Linked DNA regions of Homo sapiens: region 1 is linked to region 2. Evidence: promoter capture Hi-C in human tissues and cell types (Jung and others, 2019). All regions are on one chromosome and are shown on one strand. The core of a region is centred on a gene start or on the middle of the fragment in contact, and the rest is flanking DNA. Distances in the headings are between cores, read along the strand shown.

Region 1 (5,462 bases), core at 1,487-3,986, 560 kb before region 2:
CCCTTGCTAAAGGGAACCAATTAATACAAAAATCAGGACTAGGTAGGCAAAAGGAAGAACTGAATGGCTTAGTGGAATTTTTAGCATTTATGATCTTCCTTACAAAAAAAGAATATAACCAGTACTTGCTGAGACATATGGCCTCTGAAGAACTGTAGTCTATGGGCTGAGCCTGTATACTATTAAATGAGGCAAACAGTCATTTACCAAAGTTCCACTTCCCTACTTCCGAAAGTAAGGTCACTTTCAGACTAGCTTTGAGAGTATATGTGAAGACCAGGAGAAGTTGGAGAGGGTAGAGGTAGAAGAAGAGAATCAGGATGGGAAGGTTTTGGTGATCATGCGTGGTCTGGTGTTATCTTGAGTCACCTTGGTCTTGAGACTTTGAGGCAGACCAGCATAGGAAAAAAGTGGGAAACAAACAAACCTGAGAGTGTTAAAAAGGATCGGTAAGGGGAAGAGGCTTATTTAATTCAAGTTTCCTAGGGCCAGTCCAGACTAACTCTTAGAACCAATCTGGTCCTAATGAAATGCCTGAGACCAACAGATCAGTCTCCAAAAGGAATCCAATTTTTGGGTGGGACATAAAATGTCACGCTGCCCACACCACATTACTAATTCTTTTTGTAGCACTGGAGTTACTCAAGAAACTGACTCTGAAATACAGAATCATCAAATGGAAGAGGTTAAATCATAAAAGATATGCCAGCAGAGAAGTCCACAGATCAGACTGCAGATCTCGGTTTCATCCATGGCAATGGCCAAAGGAATGAATGTCTGACGAGGTTCAAACTAGTCAAATTAGCTTTGATAATCTGGATACAGTTTACAATTTCATCTCTGTATCCCTCAGCCAGTCAAACTGCAATGGCCTTCCTGGGAAACAAATAAATATACTCTGCTTTGTTAGGGTATCAAGCTGTGAGTCTGAAAGACCTGTCCCATTTCCAAAGCCTATCCCCCTAAGTCCCTGGAAAAGTATGCCTTTCCCTACTCAGTTTCAGACGTAGCTTTAGGCAATAGCAGGAAGTTTCAGGAAGCAGTGTTTCACAACAAGCTCTCCTTTTCTGAGATAGTGCCAATCTGGAGGGGCTTCCTTGGAAACTATCCAATCAAATGACAAGGAAGTAAAACTATGGGTCCCAGTGGAGCTGGCCCCACTTCCTGAGCAGACGTTGGCTGGATTAGAAAGACAGCAGAACAAATGTCTGACAAATACCAAAACTGTGGAGGAAATAATGGAGGCACATCCCTCTTGCAACCAGGAAGTGTTAAAATGGACATAAATATTCAAGGAGAAGAAAGGAGTCCTGGGTAAGAAAGGAGACCCCTGGTAGGCACAGCACAGCTGAGTTCTTGATGTAGCTTGGCAAAGCCATAAATAACACTCCTTCCTTATTAGCCTTTATATAAAGAAGGCAGTGATAGTGATGGTCAAGATTGGGAACCCAATCTTGTGTGAAACACTGGCCATGTTAATTCCAAACGGCCTCACCCGGGGAAGGGCCAAGCTGAGAAAAGCAGGTGCTGAAAATTTATTCCAGAAAACTCCAGGGAATAGGGAGTATGGAATCCCTGGACTAACTCGTGAGCCTGGACAAGAGGAAAAACGGCCACTGCTGAGGATTCAGTCAATGGGGAATGATGCAAATGATGCACTGGGAGCAGTAACCCCATTTCTTTCCTTCCTCAGCCCATCCTCTGTGGCTTTCATGGCCCTCAGGGCAGTAACCACACTCTGGGCCAACACTACAGGCACAGGATTCTTGATTTTAATAAATAAATAACCTAACACACAGGGTGAGCACGGCAGGCAGCTTTGATTGGAGAAGCAGCTTGCTGAATTCTTTCTTGTATAGTAGTGGAGAAAAGGCTTGGAGTTCTATTCCTTAAAAATTCTGGTTTGAGTTACAGGAACTTAATACCTGGAGGGAAAAAGAAAGATGAGACTGTGATGTTATCAGCTAATGGGGATGCTGGGACATGAAGAGCCTGCCTAAAGGTGTAACAGGGAGGCAGAGACTTTTCTGGAGTGTACAGTGACAGGAAATAACTGTGTTTCCTTTTCACATCATTGAAAAAGGCCAATATTTCTCCATAAAGAGATAAAAATCATAGCAACAAGATGAAATGGGGAAAGGAATTGAGGAAGGGGAACTTTATTTAATGAGGCAAATAGCCACTTACCCAAACTCCACCTCTCTATCTCCAAAAGGCAAATTCAGGAAGGGGAATACTATTTAAGGCCTTGAAGAGTCTTTTGAAGGTGGCAGTGAGGGGAAGTGGGTTCATTTTTCTGAGTTCATGTAAGCATATGTGGTTGGGGATGCAAAGACCAATTCCAGTGCAGGAAGCTCATCACTGCCCAGGTGTCCCTGATTTCTGGGGAGCCCAAGGCACCTGTAGTAATTAGGCTTGAAGGGCCCATTCTTGTTGAGTCCCAGATACTTGGCCTGTTCATCTGTCAGCTCTGTCAAGTGGGCATCAAAGGTAGGCAGGTGTAGGCTGGCCACATACTCATCTGGAACAGACCACAGAAGCCCTGGTATAAGCATTCATGCCTTTTATCTGATGGCTATTGTCCCCAAGCTAGGCCTTAAAAAGTTCAAAGACACCTTCTAATTCCTGGAGCTGAATGAAAAATGTTCAACCTTCGCTCACTGGTCCTCAATTCTAAGGAATAGCTGCCTTCAGCTTCAAGCCCAGTGCTTTCCAAAGCCTTAATAATTCATCCTTACTAACTCAGCTTTGAACCCTGCCTTCCAGAAAAGTGCAGGAGAGATGAAAGAAACAACAGGCATTAAGATTTAAAAGAAGGAATAGGATAATGTGGGAACTAAATAATGGGAAGCTCCAACTTGAGTTTTGCCTTGGACTCCATACTTTGGGTCATTTAAAACAACTAATGCCTGGGGAAACTTGAATGGAAAAACTAAGAAGGATACTAAATGGGATAAATGAACTGTTTGCTTTGCTTTTAGTACTCTTAATTCTTATGGGTTTCTGTTCACATTCTATTATCTGACTACATAGTACTTATTCATAATCTTATGTCATTTCCTATGTATTTGTTTGGTCTCCCAACTTCATTATACATTCTGTCAGAATATGGACTGTGCTGTTGCTTTTATATCCTTCTAAAGTGTCTACTAAAGGGAAAATGTATCAACTTTTAACAGTTGTTATATACCTAGTGCTAAGGCAAAACAAAACCAGAAGCTTATTTATTACCTGATCTTTGCCTGAGGAGTTTATAAACACACTGTATCAGTTCAGGTGCTTGAGGCAGGCTCTTTAAAAATTTAAGACAGGTTAATGTTTCTCTTATACAAAACACCCACATAACTAAATAGCTCCTATTCCACATCTCTCCTTTGGCCTGAAGCACTGGGATTGGTGTTGGAAGGTGTAGTAAGAAAGTCTTGTGTCGTCTGAGAAAAGTTTGGTAGGGGCTATTTGGCAGCCTAGAATTGGAGTAAGTCAGATGTCACAAGGTAGGAGATGATTCTTCTCTTTTAAGGGAAGATTTTTTTTTTCTCCTTTGAGATTCCCACATAAAGATACTTTAAGAAAAAAAAAATCCTTAAAATTCACAGGCAGGTAAAATAAATCACAGCATAATATCACAACTTCGCTAGGGCAACACATGTAGAAAATGGGATAAATAAATGGGAATGGCACCTAGGAATCCTAATTCCTACTTTACAAGATGAAGGTACCTTTTTTCCCCCATCCTTAAGTAAGTTAATGCCCCCAAACTTCCTTTAACCTCAGACTCTGAACTACTTTGGTAAGGATGGAGATGGAAGAGTAAATACTTACCCATCTTCTTGGGCAACAGGTAGACATCCTGCTTATAGCGACCCTCAGGAGCATTGTAAAGCTCTATCAAGGCAAGAGCCTAGAAAAGCAGAGAGATGGATGCTGATGTGCCATTCATGGCAATCTACCCAAGCAAGTGAAACCTGGTGGGTCTGAGGACCTTCTCCAGACTACTGCTATCCCACTCTGGAAGCCTTACCTGAGTAGTAGCAGTGATTGAGAGCACAAATGTAGGCACTGTGGAGCAGCTAAGGTTCAGCAGGCGGCCCTAGTGATCAAAGGTGAAGACACAAATGGATTAGGACAAAGTCGCTGGCCTTTGAGAAGTGAGGGAAGAGAAGCATGACCACCATTTTCCAAACACTTCCTGACTAACACTGCTGGAAAAAAAGCAGCTATTCAATATATAAGAACTAACTGACTGACATTTAAATGAAACCACTAAAATTCTGGAAAATCTGATGAAACTAATAGCTAAAAGATTTCTGGAATTATTTAAAAAGGAATACAGATGGTCATATGACACTGAGGCTTATGCCAAATATCAGTGTACTTCTCTTGAATTTTCCACTCTCTATAGCAAAATATCCTCCTTCTGAGGATCGGCATTTCTTTTAAAGACTGTCTTGAAATAAACAATGATCAGTCAAATCCAGGGACAATCTCTCCAGGTTGTGAGGGGAGGTATATTTGGACTTAGGAAGCTGTGATGATTGATTGATTGATTGATTGATTGATTGATTAGATGGAGTCTCCCTCTGTTGCCCAGGCTGGAGTTCCATGGCATGATCTTGACTCACTGTAACCTCTGCCCCCTGGGTTCAAGTGATTCTCCTGCCTCAGCCTCCAGAGTAACTGGGATCACAGGTGTGCGCCACCATGCCCGGCTAACTTTTGTATTTTTTTTTTTTTTTTTGTAGAGACAGGGTTTCACCATAGCTGTGATGATTTTTGTGCTTCTCCTTCAGTTTGCTTCTCCTGAATTCAAAGACAGCATTGTCAGCCTTGTATTTTGAGTTGGTGATTCAGACAGTAGAAGAACTAGAAATTGCCCCCAATGCCACCCTTTCCTATTTTGTTTCCTATGAAGCCTGACCACCTTTTTGCTCAACCATCTAGCCAAAAACACCCATGGTACTTGCTTTTGTCACCAAAATTACCAGGTGGGACCTCCTAGGGCAGCTAGAAACAAGTCATCAGTCAGCAGACTGACATCAAAGCTATTAATGCATATTTGGCAATCTGCCCATCTCCTCCTCATATATACTCCTTCCTTGTGAAGAAATAGTTCAGTCCCTTTACAAATGCCCTGAAGTATCTGAGAAGATGAGATAAAGTGAGGAAAATGTGAAGAAAACAGTAAGGACACTAAAAACTCCTAACTTATGGGCCCCTAGATAAAGACAATGTATATTTTACATTTTCATATTCAGGTTCTTTAATATAAAAAAAGAAAAAAAACCAACTGAAAATCAAAATTGAGAAAAGTATTATTATCCTCCTTGATATTTTGGTATCTTTCTCTGAAGAAGAGAAAGCTTCAAGGTAAGAATAGAAGGCATCTAATATTATAGCTGTCAGGAATCCAGGACTAGGGAAGAGGAGCTTTTAAGAAAGGAAAAGTGGTCAAACACTGACAT
Region 2 (5,131 bases), core at 892-3,391:
CTGTGATGGCTCACGCCTGTAATCCCAGCACTTTGGGAGGCCGAGGCAGGTGGATTGCTTGAACCCAGGAGTTTGAGACCAGAATGGGCCACATAGTGAGACCCCCATCTCCCTCTCTCTCTCTCTCTCTCTCTATCTATATATACACACACAAAAAAATGGCTGGATGTGGCGGATCTATCTATCTATCTATATATATACACACAAAAAAAAAATGGCTGGATGTGGCGGCATGTGCCAGCTACTTGGGAAGCTGTAGTCCTAGCTATTTAGGAAGCTGAGGTGGGAGAATCACTTGAGCCTGGGAAGTCGAGGCCGCAGTGAGCTGCGATCACGCCACTGCAATCCAGCCTGGGTGACAGGAGTGAGACCCTGTCTCAGAAAAAAAAAAAAAAAAAGACACATTAACTTTTAAAAAGAAAACAAATTATTTAAAAATAGGGCTGATGAGACCACTGAAGGCCTCAAGGTCTATCCTGATGAGGGTGGTGGAGGGGTCAGAGGGAAAGTTTGGCATGAACTAAGATCACAAGCTAGGAAGAGGACACCTTGATGAAGGAATCACACTTTCTGCACAAAAAGAACCTGGCCTTGTGCTCCTTCTCTCCTGTGGTCACCCACCCATTCATTTGTTTATTTTATTTTTATTTTTTTGAGACAGGGTCTCCCTCTGTCACCCAGGCTGGAGTGCAGTGGTGGATCTCGGCTCACTGCAGTCTCCACCTCCCAGGTTCAAACAATTCTCCTTCCTCAGCCTCCTGATTTCTTGGGATTACAGGCACCCGCCACCACGCCTGGCTAATTTTTGTATTTTTAGTAGAAATGGGGTTTCACCATATTGGTCAGGCTAGTCTCAAACTCCCGAGCTCAGGTGATCCACCCGCCTCGGCCTCCAAAACTGTTGGGATTACAGGCGTGAGCCACTGCACCCAGACTCATTCGTTTATTTACTGATTAAAAATTACTTACTGAGCACCCACCCCCTGCCAGTCACTGGGTTAGATTTGATCTCTGAGGTCCCTTTTGGTTGGAAACATAAAAAATTCTTGAAGTAAAATTTGTCCTTCTCCCATGATAACTTGGGTCACTTTACCAGACAGCTTAGAGAATGGCAGATAACAGCCTCCCAGGTCAGGGACTACCTAATACACCAGGCAGCAGGAACCAGTCTCAGCCAGCAGCCCTGGGCTGGACTGTTTGGGGGAAACAGGTGAGTGGTTTATTCCTGAGACTTGGTACAGGGGCCCTGGAGAAGGGGTGAGGAATAAAATAGGAGGCTGGTATCCTTAATTCCAGTCACCAGGACCCCTGGTGGATTAAAAGCATGCCTGCACCCACACTCTGACCTAAGGCAGGCAGTGAGGGCTTGAGTGCAAGGTCTTAGCAGAAGGCTCTCACAGTCCCGACATTTCTGCCTACTGTGCTCAAGACTACAAGGAAATTCCGAGGCCGCCTGAGGAGACCTGCCAAGAGTGTGTACCTGGCTTACCGGAGGCAGAAAGGGTTGAGATTGGGTTCAAATTCTAGCTCTGCCTCTGCCGACTCGTAACTTTAGTGTGTGCCTTACCCTCTCCGAGCTTTAGTTTTCTCACCTGTGAGTAGGACAAAAATCATCCCTGCCTTACGGGACGATGGTGAGCCTCTAAAGGAGGAGAAAGCAGAACAAAGTCCAAGCCCACTGTCTAGGCTGTCACGAGCTCTGTTCCCCTTCTTTCATGACACACGATCATGTGAGGTGGGGGGGCTCGTGGACCTGATACAGCTTCTGTCCCACCGAGCCCCAAACGGGGACTTGGGGCGCGGAGGCCTCCGCTCCGGAAGGGCGGAAGGACTTTCAGGATCGTCCCCTCACCCCCGTCCGGGCAGCCTCCAGCCTCGCCCCGCACTCCACCGAGCAGCAGAAGGGCCCGTTCAGGCCTCGCGCGGTACCGTACCGGAAAGTGTCTTCGATCTCATTGATGGTTGTATCCTTCTCCACCACCAGGAAATTGGGATGGCGGTTCTTGTTAAGCTCCCCTATGCCGCCCAGCAGGAAACCAGTCACCGTGTCCTCGTCTCCGATCACTGCGATGAGCTTACCCCTCCCCGCCATCCCTGCAGCCGGGCAGAGCTCACCCTAGAGCACCAGAAGCCACTGAAACCCCGCCTCCGCCGTACGGCGCCCCGTCGGCCTCAACCCCCACCCTTCGAGCATGCGCAGTCCTCCCAGCCGCATTCCGGGACATGCGCATTAACAGCAACACGGCCTCCATGTGAATACGCCTGCGCCGTAAAGACAGGCCCGAACCAGGGGACTACGATTCCCAGAAGACCGCGCGGCACCACGTCCTTCGCGGGCATTCATTCGTTCATTCACTCGTTCCTTGGTTCATTCGTTCAACAAGCGCTTTGGACCTGACGCTGTTAGACGCCGAGACCCCAGAGAAGAGACGCAGTTACTCATCTCAAGGGCAGGGTCTGGGTCTTTATCGTGTATGTATGTGTGTAACTATGACACATAGTTAACAAGTAACACACGTTTGTTCAGTTAAAGGAATGCAAAAGTTAATGATGATACTGCCTAGTGAGGTGGAAAGTCAAGGGAACAGGCGACTACAAAGCTGTGTGTTAATGGTTAGAATGTGAAAAGTATATGGAAGCACACATCCATGGTAACTAACCCATGGAGAGAGGGGGCGTCCAAAGAACCCTTCCCCAAGAAGCTTGCTTCAGATCTAAGCTGAGACCTGAAGGACCTGCAGGATGAAGGGGATAGAAGTGAGGACAAGACGGTGTTCTAGGCAGAGGAACAGCATGTGCAAAGGCGTACTGACTAGAGAGCGTAGGGCCTTCAAGGAAAGTTAAATAATTGGTAAGGCCAGGCATGGTGGCTCACGCCACACCTGTAATCCCAGCACTTTGGGAGGCTGAGGCAGGTGGATCACCTGAGGTCAGGAGTTTGAGACCAGCCTGGCCAACATGGCGAAAACCCGTCTCTACTAAAAACACAAAAAATTAGCCGGGCGTGGTTGTGGGCGCCTGTAGTCCCAGCTACTCGAGAGGCTGAGGCAGGAGAATTGCTTCAACCCGGGAAGCGGAGGTTGCAGTGAGCCGAGATTGTGCCATTGCACTCCAGCCTGGGTGACAGAGCGAGACTCTGTCTCAAAAAAAAAAAAAAAAAAAAAAAAAAAAAATTAGCCAGGCGTGGTGGTGCACACTTATAGTTCCAGGTACTCGAGAAGCTGAGGCAGCAGGGCTTACTCAGGAGTTCAAGGTTACAGTGAGCTATGATCACGGCACTGCACTTAAACCTGAGCAGCAGAGCGAGACCCTGTCTAAAAAAAAAAAAAAAGGATCTGCAGGCTGGGCGCGGTGGCTCACGCCTGTAATCCCAGCACTTTGGGAGGCTGAGGCGGGTAGATCACCTGAAGTCAGGAGTTTGAGACCAGTCTGGCCAACATGGTGAAATCCCATCTCCACTAAAAATACAAAAAAAATTAGCCCAGTGAGGTGGTGTGTGCCTGTAGTCCCAGCTACTCGGGAGGCTGAGGCAGGACAATTGCTTGAACCCGGGCAAGGGAGGTTGCAGTGAGCTGAGATGGCGCCACTGCACTCCAGCCTAGGTGACAGAGTGAGACTCTGTCTAAAAAAAAAAAAAAAAAAAAAAAAAGATCTGGAAGTTATCCTGAGGACAGTTATCCTGAAGCTGCTGAGGGATTTCAAGTAAGAGAGTGCTATCGCCAAACTTACGTTTTAGAGCTGTCACTCACTGTTGACTGTGCTGTGTGCAGAGGCGAAACTGAGGGAGGAGAAACCAAATTGGGAGGCCACTGTGAGAGATAATGGTGGCCAGGACTCAGGTGGTGATAATGGGAAACGCAGAGAAGTAGGTAGAGCCGAGAGATATTTAGATATTTAGGACAAAACTGGTTTCAGAGTGGATGTGTTTGGGGAGTGAGGTAGAGAGAGAGACCTGGGTGATTTCCAGGTTTCTGGCCTGTGCAGCACATGGATGGGAGTAACATTGCCAAGAAAGTGACCTCTGTAAGATGAGCAGGCTGAAGGGGAAGGAGCCACTCTTTCCTCCTCCCTTTTAACAAATCAGCACTCCCGGTGTCTGGCATGGGGTTTGTGAGTTTGGAGTGCTTGAGACGTGCCCGTGGTCTGGTCTAGCGATTGTATGTGTGATAAGCTTGGGATTCGGGCACACCTGGGTTTCAATCTGTGCCCCACTACTTAAAGGTACGGTTTCAGACTCATCACTGAAATTCCCAGGGCCTTGGTTTCTTCAGATGGTAGTAGCCCCACCTCATAGGGCTGTTATGAGGATTAATGAGGAAGGGCCTGTAAGGCTCAGCACCCAGGGCCACACTGTGGCTGGCTGGAAGCAGGCAGGCTGGAGGTCTGTGAGCTTATCAGCCACACACAGGTGGAGGCAGCCGAAGCTGAGGGGGAAATTAGCACATCTAGGGGTGAGGGTGAGGGTGAGGGGGGCAGAGAGTGAGGATGGGTGTGTGGGAGGGTGTGAGGGAAGAGGGAGGAAGCACAGAGCCTGGTGAGAGAGGTGGGGAGGTCAGGGATTAGGAGTTGGGGACTCGTGGGTTTTTCTGCCAAGCCCACCACCATGTGCTGAAATGCCCAGGTGGGTCTAGATTGTGGGATCAGTTGAATGAAAGACTTCTTTTCCCTGCTGCAGCTACTCAGCTGCTCATTTATTCATTCATACCCATTCACTCACTCATTCACACCCAGGGCCAGGGAGCTCCATCTGGTGGGGAGCCGTGGATACATGGCCACAGCTCAGGGTCGTAACTGCAACTAGAGATGTGTCCCAGGGCAGTTTGGGAGCTGGGGGCACTGATCCAGGAGGGGTAGGGAGGGGTCCAGGAAAACTTCCTGTTGGCCAGGAAGATGAAGAGGGTGGGGAGGCAAAGGTGTTTCCGGGCAAGGGCCCAAATTACAGCATGGGTGCCCAGAGGTAATGAAGGGGGGTTGGAGGTGGAGGGCACAATGGAGAGTGGGCCTGCTGCCCAACTCATATGGCTGGGGAGGCTGCTGTCTGAACCTGGGTGGCCCTGGAGACCTTGTCAGGAAGAGGAGACTTTACTCTGGAGCAGGAGGGAGTCACAGATGGCCCTAAACCAGAGAGGGG

What was found. The method cuts DNA at HindIII sites, captures the fragments that hold promoters and counts their contacts. A contact is called where the count stands out against the background at its distance.
Region 1: a fragment that was not itself captured here is called in contact with the fragment with the promoter of ATP6V1F in region 2 in 1 of the 25 tissues and cell types used here (lymphoblastoid cells).

What each region holds. Positions count from the first base shown.
Region 1 is chr7:129,423,502-129,428,963 of GRCh38, reverse strand. AHCYL2 (adenosylhomocysteinase like 2) reads right to left here. Exons shown (of 17, transcript NM_015328.4): 14 at 4,022-4,090; 15 at 3,823-3,901; 16 at 2,401-2,521; 17 at 1-1,925. The coding sequence ends at 1,919. Among named protein-coding and RNA genes, the nearest start is that of STRIP2, 8.2 kb to the left of the region's middle. The HindIII fragment of the contact is 3,108 bases long and covers 1,183-4,290 here.
Region 2 is chr7:128,859,866-128,864,996 of GRCh38, reverse strand. ATP6V1F (ATPase H+ transporting V1 subunit F) reads right to left here and starts at 2,141. Exons shown (of 2, transcript NM_004231.4): 1 at 1,935-2,141. The coding sequence starts at 2,092. FLNC-AS1 (FLNC antisense RNA 1) reads left to right here and starts at 2,371. Exons shown (of 4, transcript NR_149055.1): 1 at 2,371-2,472. RefSeq lists enhancers at 1,848-2,337, 2,418-2,527. The HindIII fragment of the contact is 21,210 bases long and covers 1-3,437 here.